Linked DNA regions of Homo sapiens: regions 1 and 3 are each linked to region 2. The links are contacts of gene promoters, found by promoter capture Hi-C in blood cells and fetal thymus (Javierre and others, 2016). All regions are on one chromosome and are shown on one strand. Each heading gives the region's core, a stretch centred on a gene start or on the middle of the fragment in contact. The rest is flanking DNA. Distances are from core to core; before and after follow the strand shown.

What was found. The method cuts DNA at HindIII sites, captures the fragments that hold promoters and counts their contacts. A CHiCAGO score of 5 or more calls a contact.
Region 1: a contact is called between a fragment that was not itself captured here and the fragment with the promoter of MMP15 in region 2, in 2 of 17 cell types (activated CD4 T cells and non-activated CD4 T cells). The highest score is 5.2, in activated CD4 T cells.
Region 3: the fragment with the promoter of ADGRG1 here is called in contact with the fragment with the promoter of MMP15 in region 2 in 3 of 17 cell types (M1 macrophages, erythroblasts and neutrophils); the score reaches 7.1 in M1 macrophages.

The regions. Positions count from the first base shown.
Region 1 is chr16:57,755,788-57,760,461 of GRCh38, reverse strand. It overlaps KATNB1 (katanin regulatory subunit B1), which reads right to left. Exons shown (of 20, transcript NM_005886.3): 17 at 4,545-4,621; 18 at 4,396-4,470; 19 at 3,990-4,106; 20 at 3,218-3,648. The coding sequence ends at 3,516. It overlaps KIFC3 (kinesin family member C3), which reads left to right. Exons shown (of 20, transcript NM_001130100.2): 17 at 46-180; 18 at 626-734; 19 at 1,309-1,337; 20 at 1,553-2,245. The coding sequence ends at 1,313. Among named protein-coding and RNA genes, the nearest start is that of MIR6772, 14 kb to the left of the region's middle. RefSeq lists a silencer at 3,003-3,152 and enhancers at 2,951-3,245, 2,834-3,473. The HindIII fragment of the contact is 2,219 bases long and covers 2,202-4,420 here.
Region 2 is chr16:58,023,811-58,027,977 of GRCh38, reverse strand. It overlaps MMP15 (matrix metallopeptidase 15), which reads right to left and starts at 2,224. Exons shown (of 10, transcript NM_002428.4): 1 at 1,466-2,224. The coding sequence starts at 1,627. RefSeq lists enhancers at 560-1,109, 1,660-2,209, 2,442-3,027, 3,028-3,615 and a silencer at 2,076-2,215. The HindIII fragment of the contact is 2,704 bases long and covers 316-3,019 here.
Region 3 is chr16:57,625,203-57,629,879 of GRCh38, reverse strand. ADGRG1 (adhesion G protein-coupled receptor G1) reads right to left here and starts at 1,250. Exons shown (of 14, transcript NM_201525.4): 1 at 1,078-1,250. RefSeq lists a silencer at 1,139-1,208 and enhancers at 758-1,413, 1,414-2,069. The HindIII fragment of the contact is 3,448 bases long and covers 1-2,626 here.

The sequences.
Region 1 (4,674 bases), core at 2,062-4,561, 270 kb after region 2:
CCCTCCAGCTGGCCCGGGTGGGCAGTGAGCTCTCGTGTCCCCTAGGTGTCCCCCGTGGAGAAGAACACTAGCGAGACGCTCTATTCCCTCAAGTTTGCTGAGAGGGTGCGCTCTGTGGAGCTGGGGCCTGGGCTACGCAGGGCAGAGCTTGGGTCCTGGTCAAGCCAGGAGCATCTAGAGGTACGGGGACTGTCACAGGCCTGGCTCAGGTGGCCCTGGGTCAGAGACTTTGGGTCATGGCAGGAGCAGGGAGCTGGGCGGGGACGTCCTGAAGCAGTGGGGGCAGGGAAGCTGCCGGAGTTGGGTGGAGCTACGGCTGGAACCCACAGCCAGCAGCCTCTTCAGTACAGGTATTTCTTCTTGGCCTCGGAGGTTCCTGTGGGGTGACGAGCTGGCCGTGGGGGTGGCACATAGTAGATGCTCAGTGGTAACTAGTTGACTTCTTTACATGAATTATCTCATTTAATTCTTGCCATAACTGAGGCTGGGGCACAAACATCATGCCCATTTTGCAGATGAGGAAACTGGGTGTTAGGAGGCAGGGCAGGGGAGTAGAGAGAAGCACAGCAGGGTGGGGAGCCAGGGCAGCCGTGGCCCCCGCCCATCCGCCCTTCCCTGCTCACAGTGGGAGCCGGCTTGTCAGACGCCACAGCCCTCGGCACGGGCCCACTCAGCCCCCAGCTCTGGGACCAGTAGCCGCCCTGGATCCATCCGGAGGAAGCTGCAGCCCTCGGGTGAGCCTGGAGTGGCAGTGTGGGTGGGGAGTCTCCCCAGGGTAATAGTCACCAGGCTGCCCTTACCTGGATGGGCTTTCTCTTTTCTTTCCTTTTTAAAAAGTTCTTACACCTTCTCCAGAACCTGTTTTACAACCTCCCCTGCCCCCAGGCAGTAGTCAGGGCAGACAGTGCTGTGTCCGTTCTGCAGGTGGGAAATGGAAGGTCTGTGGGAAGGGGGCAGTGTAAGGAGACCCCAGCCTCTCAGCCGGGGGTGCTGACTCTACCCTGGGACCCTGCTCTCTGAGCATGGGCTGGCTGAGCCTGTGCAGTAAGCCCCCTCCAGAGCAGCCCCTGCAGCCCCCTCCCTGTGCCTCAGCTGCCCCGGGGGTAGAAAGGGCCGGGCTTGCCTACCTCCTAGGTGAGGAGTGAGCCCCGCCACAGGACCGGGACCCAGGGCTCCAGCCCCTGTTTAGCCCAGATCATGGGAGGGCCTGGCCCATCCTTGAGTCCAAAGGGGTAGCAGCAGCAGGGTCTTGTGGGGTACTGGCCCAAGGCAAGCCCACCAGTGAGACGCCTGTCACTTTGATTTCAGCCTGACGGCTGGGGCTGCAGAGTCTCTAGGTGAGTGTGGGGCCTGTGGCCCAGGGCTGCCCGCCTGCCTGCCCGCAGTGGGTTGCAGGGCTGCGCTGGGACGTTCTGCTGTTCAGAGCTGGGTCTAGCCCCTGCTGTCGCTTGTCTATGTGCTTTTGCTGGGTTCCCTCCTGCTCTCGGTGGCAACTGCTGTGGGCTGCCGGTGGGCAAGTGGACAAGAGGCTGATGATCTCATGCCCCTGCAGGGAAGTCGCGGCCACTGCCTGTGTGACGGATGTGACCCCGCTGGGCCTGAAGCTGGGCCCTCACTGGCCTGTCCCTGCTGCAGCGCCAGGACCCCCGGAGGTAGAGGCGAGAGTGGAGGCTCTTCTTCTGCCCCGTCTCCCCTCAAAGATGAGAAACATGTTCAGAAGGAAACGGTGTCTCTCGGCTGTGGCTCTGAGTGCAAATTGCATGGGCGGAAAGGCGGGGGTGGCTGCTCTTCCTGGCAGGCCTGGGCCATCAGCGAACTGGGCCCCGTGAGGAGGGCGGGAGTGTGGAGGAGGGTGGGCCTCTCACCCAGGCTTTCTCGGCCCCTCTCCTCAGCTTGCAGAGCTGGCCAGCCCCCTCCTTAGGGGGTGGGCGAGGAGCCTCTGGGCAGACCCAAGAACCATGGGGACTGGGGTGGGTTGGTGGCACCAATGGCAGCCCTCCCCGCCCCTCTCCTTCAAGGAGGGTTCCCGCAGCTGGGGGGTGTGCGGAGGCGCATGGCCTCCCGCCACGGGGCCGTGCTGTGTTTATGGCTGGCAGAGGCAGCCAGCGGGTGGGGGATTCTGCTGCTCGCTCACCTGCCTGGCTCGCTGGTCTCTCGAATTTTCTTCCCTCTGAAATCCTATTTAAGAACTTTTGGAAGCTTAGCCATTTTTACTTATTAAAATAAAAGAAGCCTTTTTACACAAGTATGGTCTGAAAAAGTTGGTCTGTGAGCCCCTCTTGGTCTGATTAGGGGGACGGGGCACTGGCAGGTCTTGTGGACTCCCCCGCTGGCTGGTCACCCCACAGCCCTCTGGGATCTGTCCTCTAGGTCAGTTAGGGACATGCGTCCTTAACAAACAACTGGGGGGAGCCTGCGCTGTCCCACCCTGGGTCACTTTCTCTGTTGTTTGTGGTCACAGTCGCCTCATGCGGTACCTACCATGTGCCCACGATAACTGACCTCCCAACAGGGGCATTCCTCCATGTTACTGATGGGAAGGAAACTAAGGCTGGAGAGAGCTTCAAAGGCTATCAAAGCCTTGCCCAAACCATGCTGGGCTTCCAGGTTACTGCTGGGCACCACCCACTGCCCACTCTTTGCCCTGGCCTTTTCCCTCTTCAGTGAACTGGCCAGAGGTCCACGCCACCTTCCTCCAGTGCCGAGGACCCTGACCACCCCGGGGCGGGGCTGTACCTGGTCCCTGCCTTGGGAGCAGGAGGGGGCCCACCTGTCGCAGTGCCCACGGAGCAGGGAGCCCTTTCCCGCCAGCCAGTGCTGGGGACTCCAGCAGGGAGTGACAGCTGATCGGAGCCCTGCTCAGAGGAAGGGGCAGGTGCCCTTCTAGTCCTGCCCCTGGAGGCATCCTGGGGGTGTCCATAAGACAGCTTGAGTGTAGCTGAGGTGGGGAGGAACGGGCTGGTGGGGGCCACCCCTAACCTCAACACCCAGTGGTGGAAGGGTGGTTGCCGCCTCCCCTTCCTTCCCAGTCTGCACTGGCTGAACTGGTGCTGTCCCAGAGGCCTGATTCTCTGCTGCCCCCTGCTGGCCACATGGCCCAGAGCCCCACCCCCGGGCTTGGAGGGGGTGTGGCCTCATCTCAAACCATGGGGCAGGCACTCCTGGGCCCGGGGAGCCCTGTGGCCAGCAGAAAACATTCCCCACAAGGAAACCTGGGAATAGTTACAAATTTAATAAAATTTGCCTTATAAATTACAGCAGCAGCCCCAGGGCTCAGTTCGCTGCCCCAAGAAGCAACAGTTGGGCAAAGCTGGGCAGCTATTGCTGGAGAGAGTTGTCTCAAGAGTTCAGGGCTGTAGAGGTGGCCAGGGACCAGCATCACCTCCTCCAGGACGGCCACAGGACAGCAGCAGGGGCCAGGCAGAGGCTCATGGGCCAGTGGGTGCACAAGGAACAGGAGTGGGGGCTGAGGCCAGGCCCTGTGGGCTGCCGAGCGCCCCTGCCCACTGCTTTCCTCAGTCCAGACTGGCCATGAGCAGGTGCAGCTCGCGGAAGGTACTGCCATGGCGGCCGCTCAGGCCTGACTTGCTCTTGACCAGGCCGCTGATGCTCTTAAGCTGCTTGTAGCAGAGCCGGCACTTATGCAGCCTGTAGAGAGGGCAGTGCCTGAGGGGCTAGCTGGCACCACCACCACCCACACCCAACCCCAGGGCCTTTGCTGTCCTAACTGCTCCAGCCCTTCCTCCCAAGGGAAGGCGGAGGCCCAGAGGGGAACCACCCAGGCCCTGCCAGGGATTGTGGGCACAGCCAGGCCATGGAGGAACCCAGCTCTGGCTAAGCCCACCCACACCCTGAGCCATGGCCCCAGACCAACGCCTCCTCTGTACTCTGTCCCAGCAGGACTGTCAGTAAGAGGGGCCCAGGCCTCCAGGCCTTTGTCCCCTCACCTGTTGTGGCACCCCTGCCCCCAACACATGCGCTGCCCTCACCTCTCCTCCCTGCTGATATCCACACCCACAGAGGGTGGGGCCGCCAGCATGTCTGTGATGAGGGGCAGAAACCGCTGCAGGATCAGCTTCAGGGAGGTGCAGCCCGTCTGGACGTAGCTTTAGGGGGAGATGGATGAAGTCACAGATGGACCAAGGGCCACAGACAGAAAGAGAAACAGCAAGGAACAAAGGAGGAGAGGGGCAGAAACAGACACAGACACACCCACACATACACCCACACACGCCTGTTTCCACTCCCACCTCCGGACTGTTGAGGGGCAGCAATGCTTCACAGCCAGCTCACAGGAACACCCAGGCTCTTGGGGGTCCTTCCCATGGTTCTGGAGGAGGCTTCTTACCTCTCCCCTCCCCCTGCTTCAGGCAGGCATGGCTTCCCCACACGCACCTCTCATACTTGCTCTGCAGAAGCTTCTCAATCTGTGGCAGGACGGTGGTGCACAGGTCCAGCTTCCACAGGGAGCTAGGAGAGGCCAGGACATGCTGCCATCAGCCCAGCCCTGCCCCTCCGCCCACTCCCCCTCTGCAGCCACTTACGCTTTCTGGTTGACGATGTTCAGGAGGTCCACCACCACCGACAGGTCGTTGATGGCCACAGCGGAGTCCACCGACGTCTGTGCAAACAGAGCACCGTCAGGGGTGGGGCAGTGGGGGACAGTGTGGCCCT
Region 2 (4,167 bases), core at 975-3,474:
GCAGGTGGGCCCAAATGGCACTCTCCGCCCAGTACTTGGGTCACAGGCTGAGGGGTAATCCTCACCAACAGGAGCCCCCTAAAGCTCCTCCTGCCTGTGTGAATGGGGTGGGGGAGGGTGGCCAGACTGGGTCGGGGCGGGGCTCCTATCCTGCCTCCCACCAGGGCCTGGCTCCTCCTTCAGCTCTCCCTGGCCAGGCCAGGGAGGGAGGGCAGAGCAGGTGGGGAAATGGCTGGGAGGTGTAACTCGAGCCCAGGAGGAATTCCCTGCCCTTCCTCTATGCTTTTATTAAAGTAGGGCGGGGAAGGGCAAGCTTCCATCGGAAAAATCTCCCAGGCAGCCCGGAGAGGTGGGAAAGCCGCCGTGGGCCAGGGAGGGAGCACCAGCTGAGCTGCAAATAGAAACGGCGCTCAGGCCCGCAGCCCGGGCAGCCCAAGGGCACCAAGGCCTGAGCACCGTTCAGAAGCGGCTCCGGGGTGGTTCTTTCTCCCTACTCCCCGCCCAAGTCCTCTCCCCGCCTATCTGGGGCAGGGCGCAGGTCTTAGAAGTCGGGGAAGAGTGGACCCTGCTCTTGCTCTGGGGCAAGAAAGCTGGCGCCTTCGGTGTCCTCGCTCGGGAGACACCATGGAGCTGGGGCGCTGGCTGGACTCGGCTCTACGCCGGGATGTCGCGCCTGGTCACCCGCGGGACCCATCCAGAGCGGGGCCCCGGGAGGGACGCCAAGCGGGCTCCTAGCGAAGAGAGGCGCGGGGTCCACCCTCTCGAATCCAGGGCTTCGACGTAGGGGCGCTGTTGGGAGGAAGCGCTGTGGGAGGCAGGGTCCGTCCTTAGGACCCCGCCCGGGCGTGCCTAGGCTTCCTCGCAAAAGCGCAGAAAGTCGCCAAAGCGCCCCCGCAACCCGAGTCCGCTGCCTCAGCCGTTTGCACCCATCCCCCCGCCTCCATCCTGGCCCGCCGTGCGCGGCTCGGTATCACCCAGACGGGAGGCCACCTGGGCAGGAGCGCAGTTGCCCAGCCGCCCAGCTCTTGCTCCGCCTGTGGCTGTCCCCGAGAGCAGCCCCCTCCCCACTCGCAAAGAGCGCCACTGCGCGCCAGCCGGGCTCTCGAGGAATCGGCTGCCCTGGAGGGAAGGAAGGAGGGGAGGCAAGGGCTGGGGGCGGCGGAAGCGGCTCCCGGGACACAGGCTGAATGTAAGGGGGTCGGGGTGGGGGCTCAGTGCCCAGAACAGGGCTGTAGGAGTAGCGGGGAGGAGAGCGAGGCCCTGCGCCCTCAAGGGTTTGCGAAGAGGTGCGCTGCAGAGGGCGAGCTGGGGAGGGGCAGACTGCCAAGTCCGCTTGCTTCCCCGCCACGGCCCAGAACAGGGGGCGCGTCTCCGCTCCCTCCACCTCCAAGTCCCAGCCTGCGGACGTGGCGCCTCTCCCTCCAAGCCCCCAGCCCGCAGCCAAAGGGCAGGGCGGGGGTCTTACCTCGGCATGGACCTCCGCGTCTTCGGCCGCTACGCCAAGGCCCAGGCAGCCCAGAAGCACCAGGAGCAGCGGCAGCAGTCGCGGCCGCGCCGCCTCCTCCCGGTCGCCGAGGAGGCTGCCCGTCCAGCCCGGCCGTCCGGGCGCGCTCGGGTCGCTGCCCATGCTCTCGGCGCCCAGCCCAGCTCGGAACACTGCACGCCGGATCCTCGCACGCGCCTTGGAAACTTGCGACGCTCCCTGGCTCCTGGCCCGGCAGGCGCGCCGCGGACCTCGGGCTCCCGGTCCCCGCCGGAGCCGCCTAGGTCGCCTCGGCAAATTCCCAAGCCCGAGGAGAAGCGGGCAGGGCAGGTCCGGGAGCTCGGAACCAGCCGGCGGGAAAGGGGGCCGACCGGAGCTGCCCCCGGCGAGGTTCCGCAGCCTCGGCGCCCAGCGCCTGGGGCCCGGCTCCCGAGAGCAAGCGCAACTCCGGAGCCTTTGTCTGGCTCAGCGCTCCGGCCGCCCGGTCCCGCGGCGCTCCCTGCGCGCCCAGCTCCCTCTGTCCATGCCCGGGGCCGGGCGCTGCCCGGAGCGCGCGCCTCCTGCACGGGGATTCTGCTCGCCGCCGCGCCCGACCGGGCCCGGGTCCCCAAGCAGTCCCGGGAGGAGGCGCAGGGAGCCGACCCGAGAGAGCGAGCGAGAGAGCAAGCGAGCCAGCCAAGGAGCGGGCGCCCGACGTCCCCGGCGAGTTCAGCGCGGCTCCGGGCGCTCCCAGCCCTCCTCCCCGCGCGCCGCGGCCGCCGCGCTCTTAAAGGGCCAGTGTGCTCCCAATGCGCGGACCCGGGCGGGGACCGGGGGCGGTGCCCCAGCCGCAGGCTTCTCACAAGCAGGTGCGGGCGGCCGAGGCCCGACAGGTGGGCGGTCCGTTTACGCTTCCCAGACGGCAGGAAACCTCTCCAGCCCACCCCGCGTCACTCCCAACCCAGCGCCTAGGGGGCGGGGGTGACCTCCAACGCGACCCCCCGCGGAGGGAGGAGGCAGGGAAGGCGTGGTCTCCCCGCCTGGGAAGAATGAAGACTCCTCCTTCTCATACCTGGTGGGGGATACCGAGGCCTAGGCGGACGGGAAGGAGGTCTTAGGGGAGGGATCAAAGAGTCGTTTTAGGCTTAAATATAAATATATATGTATATATGGATATTTGTCAGCCTGAAACCTCTTTTCAAAAGCCGCAGGGTGTCTCTGGCCATTGAATAACTTTCCTCAGTAGCAAAGTGAGGGTTTTGTGCGCGTCGAGGGCGCGTTGCGGCGGACAAGGGGCAGGTTTAGGAGGGACACGGTTCAAGTTCCGCGTCCGCCCCTTAGCTGCCGCTTGCACGTGGGCAAATTAATCTCTCCGAGCCTCCATGTTCTTATCGGGAACGTGGGGCAAAGAGTTGGGGTGAGGGCGAGGTAAGACTTCCGGCTCCTGGCCTGGCGCAATAGGTGCCCAAGCACTTTGGCCACTGGCTGGTGCGAGTGAAGTGCGACAGTGCGGCCGGAGTCGGCGCGGGGCGGGTGGACACACCTCCCCGCGAAGCTTAACGAGCTGGATTTCATTCTATTCCGGAAGCAGCTTGAGGTCGGGGCGGGGTGGATGCAGGAGGCCAGAGCTGGGAGGCCCGGGTCGAAGGTCCACCGAGACCCGGGGACCAGGCCAAGGGCAGCCCTGGCGCGGCGGACTGGCCGGCGTGGTCAGTGGGTGAGGGTTGCAGGCAGGAGGGCGGAGACCGAAGATAAGCTGTTCCTTATCTTCAGACCCGGAAATGGAAGCCGTCCTCACCTGAGGGCGGTTTTCTCTAGAGCAGGCCCTCGGGGCACCCTAGCCGGCCTCACCTCCCGGAAACTGGAAATCAGGAGACCTGGCAGAGTGCCTTAGAGAGGGCGCGTTTGAACCCTCCTGGGATGTCCTTGGGGAAAGGAAGTCGGAGTTTAGAGAAAGGAACCGGGCGATTCTATCATTTCCACGGACTCACTTCTCTGTGGGATCCTTCATCTGGGAAGTTGGTTTCTAAATTCTCCACTTCGAAATTTGCTTTTGGGAAATGTGCAGTGGTCTTCAGACACGGACAACGGGGTTGTCCTTGTTTAACCGACCACGTCGCACTCTTTCATGATATTTAGTCCCGATTAGCCAATTTTAAAAAGTTTGGGGCTAGGTAAAGTGGCTCAAGCCTGTAATCCCAGCACTTTGGGAGACCGAAGTGGGAGGATTGCTTTAGCCCAGGAGTTCAAGACCAGCCTGGGCAACATGACAAGACCCCATCTGTACAAAGAATACAAAAATTAGCCAGGTGTGGTGGTGTACGTCTGTAGGCCCAGCTACTTGGGAGGCTGAGTTGGGAGGATCACTTGAACCCAGGAGGTTGAGGATGCAGTGAGCTATGATCATGCCGCTGCCCTTCAACCCGGCTGTCAGAGCGAGACACTGTCTCAGAAAAAAAGAAAAAAAAAGTTGGGGTTTAAGGGGCTAGCTGTTAGTGAGAGGAGCCCAGGAATGAGTGGAGCAACGTTCTTTGAGGCCTGGGTCGGTCAAGTCTGGTGATTTTCTCTCTGTTGGAGGTTCCTCTCTTGGGGTCCAATCCTGCCTTAAGGAAATGACATCCCCTGTGACCAGATCTTGAAGCTCCCAATTATTGGTTCTGGCTCCTATAGGTACTTTGGGAGTCCAAGGTGGATTTGCATCTACA
Region 3 (4,677 bases), core at 1-2,500, 400 kb after region 2:
CCCAACTCTACCACGCAGGGGAGGTGGGTTGGGGACGGGGGAGGACAGGAATCATTGGTTTCCTACACACTCCCAGCCCCCGCGGGGACCAGGGTGGGAAGTCCTATCAGTGCCAGGCAGATGGAGCCCTGAGGTCTGGTGGCAACGGGCAGGGTGTTCAGCCCGCAGCCTGCGCTTCCCCGTCTGCCTGTCACCGGTTCCAGGACTCTCACCCACGTGGCCCACGTTCAGAGACCCTGCGGGGCCACCTTCTCCCAAAGCTGGCCTTGGTGATGAAGAGCACGGCTGTCCCTTGCTCAGTGGGGACCCCGGACCCAGCCCCAGGGACAGCTGCAGGAAAGCTGTCCTCAGGAGTTCCCTCAAGTGCCACCCCCTCCCTGAGCCTGGCCCCTGGCTTTCTATACCTGGATGTGCTAGGTGACCTTGGGCAAGCCACCTGCCCTCCCAGAGCCTCGGTTCTCCCATCTGTGTAGTAGGAGCACTGATCTCACAGCCTAAAGAGCAGACCCCAGCTTGCTGGGCCCAGTGACTGTACCACTCTGAGCCTCAGTTTCTCCAGCAACAAAATGCCTGGGAGCCCCGGGAGGTGTCGCTCCCCTTGGGCCCCAGTCCCCTCCCAGGCATCTCCTTGTGGGTCCGCCCCCACTCTAGAGACCCACCCACAGCCATGCTGACCTGGACTAGATCCCACCAAGATACCAAGACCCCCCCATTTCCCCATTTCACCACCATCCCTACCCACTGTCCAACAGCCACCCGTGCACGGATGCACACATCCACACTTACACTCACATACACTCCCACACTCACACTCACACTCATACTCACACACACTCACTCACACTCTCACACTCAAACGCTCAGTCACACTCTCACACTCACACTCACATTCTCACTCACTCTCACACACTCACACTCACACACTCTCACACTCTCACGCTCACACTCACACTCACACTCACTCTCACACACTCACACTCACACACTCACACTCTCACACACTCACGCTCACACACTCACACTCTCACACTCACACTATTCCCCTTCCCACCTGCTGTCCAGCCCTTGTTTGGGTACCTGCTGCCAGGTGGAGGGTCCCACGCAGGGCCAGGCGGCTGGACCACCTTTCAGGATCCACCCCCAGAGGCTTAACCTGCCAGCCCTGGTCCCCGCTGCCTGCCGAGTGAGCTGGAGAGCGTGGGAGGCTCCCAGCCCATCTCCTACGGCAGGGCAGGGCAGACAGCTAGTGCGGAGAGGGAGGGACCGGGTTTGTTTGGTGGGGAGACACCCCTCTCCTGCCCCAGCTGGGCTCCTCCCTCCTCCCTGAGCTTGACTGGGGATGACGGACGATATATGTGAGTCATGGATTTCTCAGAGGGAGACCAGGAGGGGGCAGGGCTGAGAGCGCTGAGGCAGTGATCCTGGGGGATGCCCATGACTCAGCGCCGGGCAAGGGGGCACCTCAGCCTCACCCCTCATCCAGGCAGACAGTGTTCAGGGACAGGAAGGGGCCGGGGATCACTCTGCTTCCTCAGCCTCCATCTGTCGCCTCCCAGGGCCAGTCTCCCCAAAGTTCCCACAGAGAGGCCGGGGTTGCCACGGCAACAGGGCCCTTGGATGCTGTCCGCCCACCCCCCAGGTCAGGGCGACAACTGCCCTTTCCTGAAGGAGAGTCCAGCCTCCTTGGCAGCCGACGGGAGCCAGTGCTGACCGGCAGAGCGGAAGGCAGTCGGGAGGGAGCGGGTGACAGGCAGCCGGGCAGGAGGCCAGCCAGGCCACGCACGACTGACCGGCTGACCTGCGTCCCCCCGGGGGGTGACCCGTCTCCCCTCTCAGTGCTCCTCAAGCACCCACAGTTTCAACATCCCAAGTCATTTTGGATTCTGAGACCCCAGGGGCTTCTGGAAACGGCCTCCTTTAATCCATCTGCTGAGCCAAAGGGGAAACCGAGGCCTGGGTGAAGAGCCATTCCCAGTGGCCCCAAAAGCTCAGACAGAGAAGTGTGGAAATGGACCATGCCCCATCCCCCTTCTGGTCATTCCTCTGTCAGCAGCACCTCCCGCTGCTGGGGTTCAGTGCCCTTCTCGAGTCAGGAGGCTTTGGATAACTCACACTCCCTGCAGAGGCTCCTGTCTGCCCTCCTCCTCCGAGCAATGAGGATAGATGATTCCTCAGTCAGATGTGCTGGGAGGCTTTTACAATGCCAGAAGGGTGAGTGGTGACAATAACAGTAATTACACTCGCTGACCACCGTCTGCATTCCAGCTCCAGAGCGCCCCTGGCAGTGGAGAGAAGTCAAACCTGCTACTCAGACCAGTGCCTGGTACTTGCCAAGCCCTCAATAAATACTCCCTGTGAATGTGGTGATGAAGAAGAGGGAGCTTAAGGCAGATACATGTAGCTCAGAGATGAGAATTAACCTGCCCAAGATCACACAGCAGGGAGGTGCCCGAGTTGGGATGGCGGGAGCACAGGCCGTCTGGCTCCATAGCGGGTCTCCTAACCACTCAGCAATCCAGCACCCCAGGCCTCAGCCTGGGGCCTGGACACGTGGATGCTTGGGGAACTTGAGATTCCTTCTCTCCGGTAGAGATCTGCCTTCTAAACAAGGGGGCCAGGAAAAGCTTCCCCATGCCACGTGGAGGAAGAATGAATGGAACGTCTCGGGCAGCCTAGGAGCCAGGGCTGCTGCAGGTGAACTGCACTCCTCACCTACCTGCTTGAAATCAAGCTGCAGAAAGGAAGGGCCACAAAGCCACCCCGTGGGGTGCAGGGAGGCCATAAGGTGAGAGCTTCCAGAAAACGGCACTGTGCTTCCCACATTCACAGTCCCCAGTCCAGGCTGTGGGCCAATACCTGGGGCAGGGAGGCACAGTGGGGACTGGGCCCATGTCATACCCTCTGCTCTCTCCCGGGGCTGCAGTGGGAACTCCCTTATTGCCAAAGCAGCAGAGGCCAGCCTACACTGGGGGCCCACTAACAAGGGAGGACAAGTGAGTTATCTAGGGGAGGATGGGTTGTCCCTGACATACCACCACCTCTGCCTCAGTTTCCCCAAGGTCAGTCCTTCAGGGCCTGATCAACTGGTAACCCGGGCAGCCTCAGCTGTTCCCCAGGGACCAGGCCCACAGGGCAGCTGTCCCCCCACCACCACCACCACACACACACCCCACAGAGCGTGCTGACCAGAAGGGCACAGATGGAGAGTTGAAGGCACCACTCTCTCTGCAGATGGCTGAAGAGAGTGCGGAGCCAGCTGCCACTCTGGCCACATAGGAGAGGCTTATGGGGCTGCCTGGCTGGGCGGAGTTGGCTGCCCAGCTCTGCCTGCCTCTCTCACCGTCGGACTTTGCAGAGACCTACTATGAGCTAGGGGCAGGCAGGTGAGGAAGCAGGCCCCCAGCTCTGAGTCTGGCTAGAGAGACAAGCCTGGTTCTCATAGTAGCGATACCTGGAGTTGGTATTCAGCATCCAGGGGTCTCTGGGAGTAAAGGGGGAGAAATTCAATGACTTGTTAAACACAACACTATCTGTTATGAGTGCTGATAACAGGACTAATAATCACCTGCTATGTCTGGAGGTTTTATGGTGTAAGATGCTCTGCTTGTACAGATCATTCTCATTTTATCCACACAACCCTGTGGGTTGGGTACCACTTGTATGTTAGAGATGGTCAGAGACATGAAGTAACTTAGCCAAGGTCGCACAGCTTGGACCTGGCTGGGCCTCCAGGTGTGTGGGCTGTAACCAAACACGGGACACCAGATATCCGGCCCCTGCTAGGCACTTCATCTTCTCCTTCTGTTCTCACAACAGTCTATCCCCACTTTACAGAAGGGGAACCGAGGTACAGGGAGGGCTACCCACGCCTTTCTATAACAGCCAGGATCTGAACTAAGCGTGTAGACCCCAGAGCCCCTGCTGGGACCTGAAGGAGAAGAAGGGGGCTTCGATAAACAGAGACCAGCAGGAAGGGCACCCCAGGCAGAGGGAACAGCATTGGCTGAGGTGGAGAGGTAGGGCATGGAGCCATGCTTGGAAGGAAGTGGGATCTAACTGGGCAGCAAGGGGCAGATTCTGGAAGATTTTGAAAGTGTAGAGTTTGGGCTTAAATCAAAGGTACTGGGGAGCCAGAGAAGATGTTTGGGTAGGGAGAGGCCTGATTAGCCCTCAAAATGTGGTCTTCAGACCTACAGATAGCCTGAGACCTGCTGAATCTGAATGTGTATTTTAATAAGATGCCCAGGGGATTCCAGAATTGGAGGTGTGAGAAGCCCTGGTCTAGACGCCAGGGACTTGTACCAGCAATGATGCGGAGGGATGGGCAGAGGAGTAGAGGGGAAGTTGGGTCCGGATGGGGCCTCGAAGGAGGCAGATGGGGGAAGAGCGGGGGAGGAGACTTTGGTCCAAGAGACCAGGAAAAGGGCTGGGACACCCCACCCCCCACAACCCGACAAGTGAAGGTGGGGACCGAGGAGAGGGGGAAGATGTCTGAAACGTCCCTGAAGAATCGGGGCACAGGATGGGGTGCAGATCCGGAAGGCAGAGAAGAGACTGCCCTGTGTGCAATGGAATGGGGGCAGCTCTGTGTCATGTGGGGAAGCCACAGGTCCCCCCTGCTTCCCAAGGCAGCTGGAAACACGTCGTTGGGGCTCAGCAGTGAGGGACTGGGGTCGC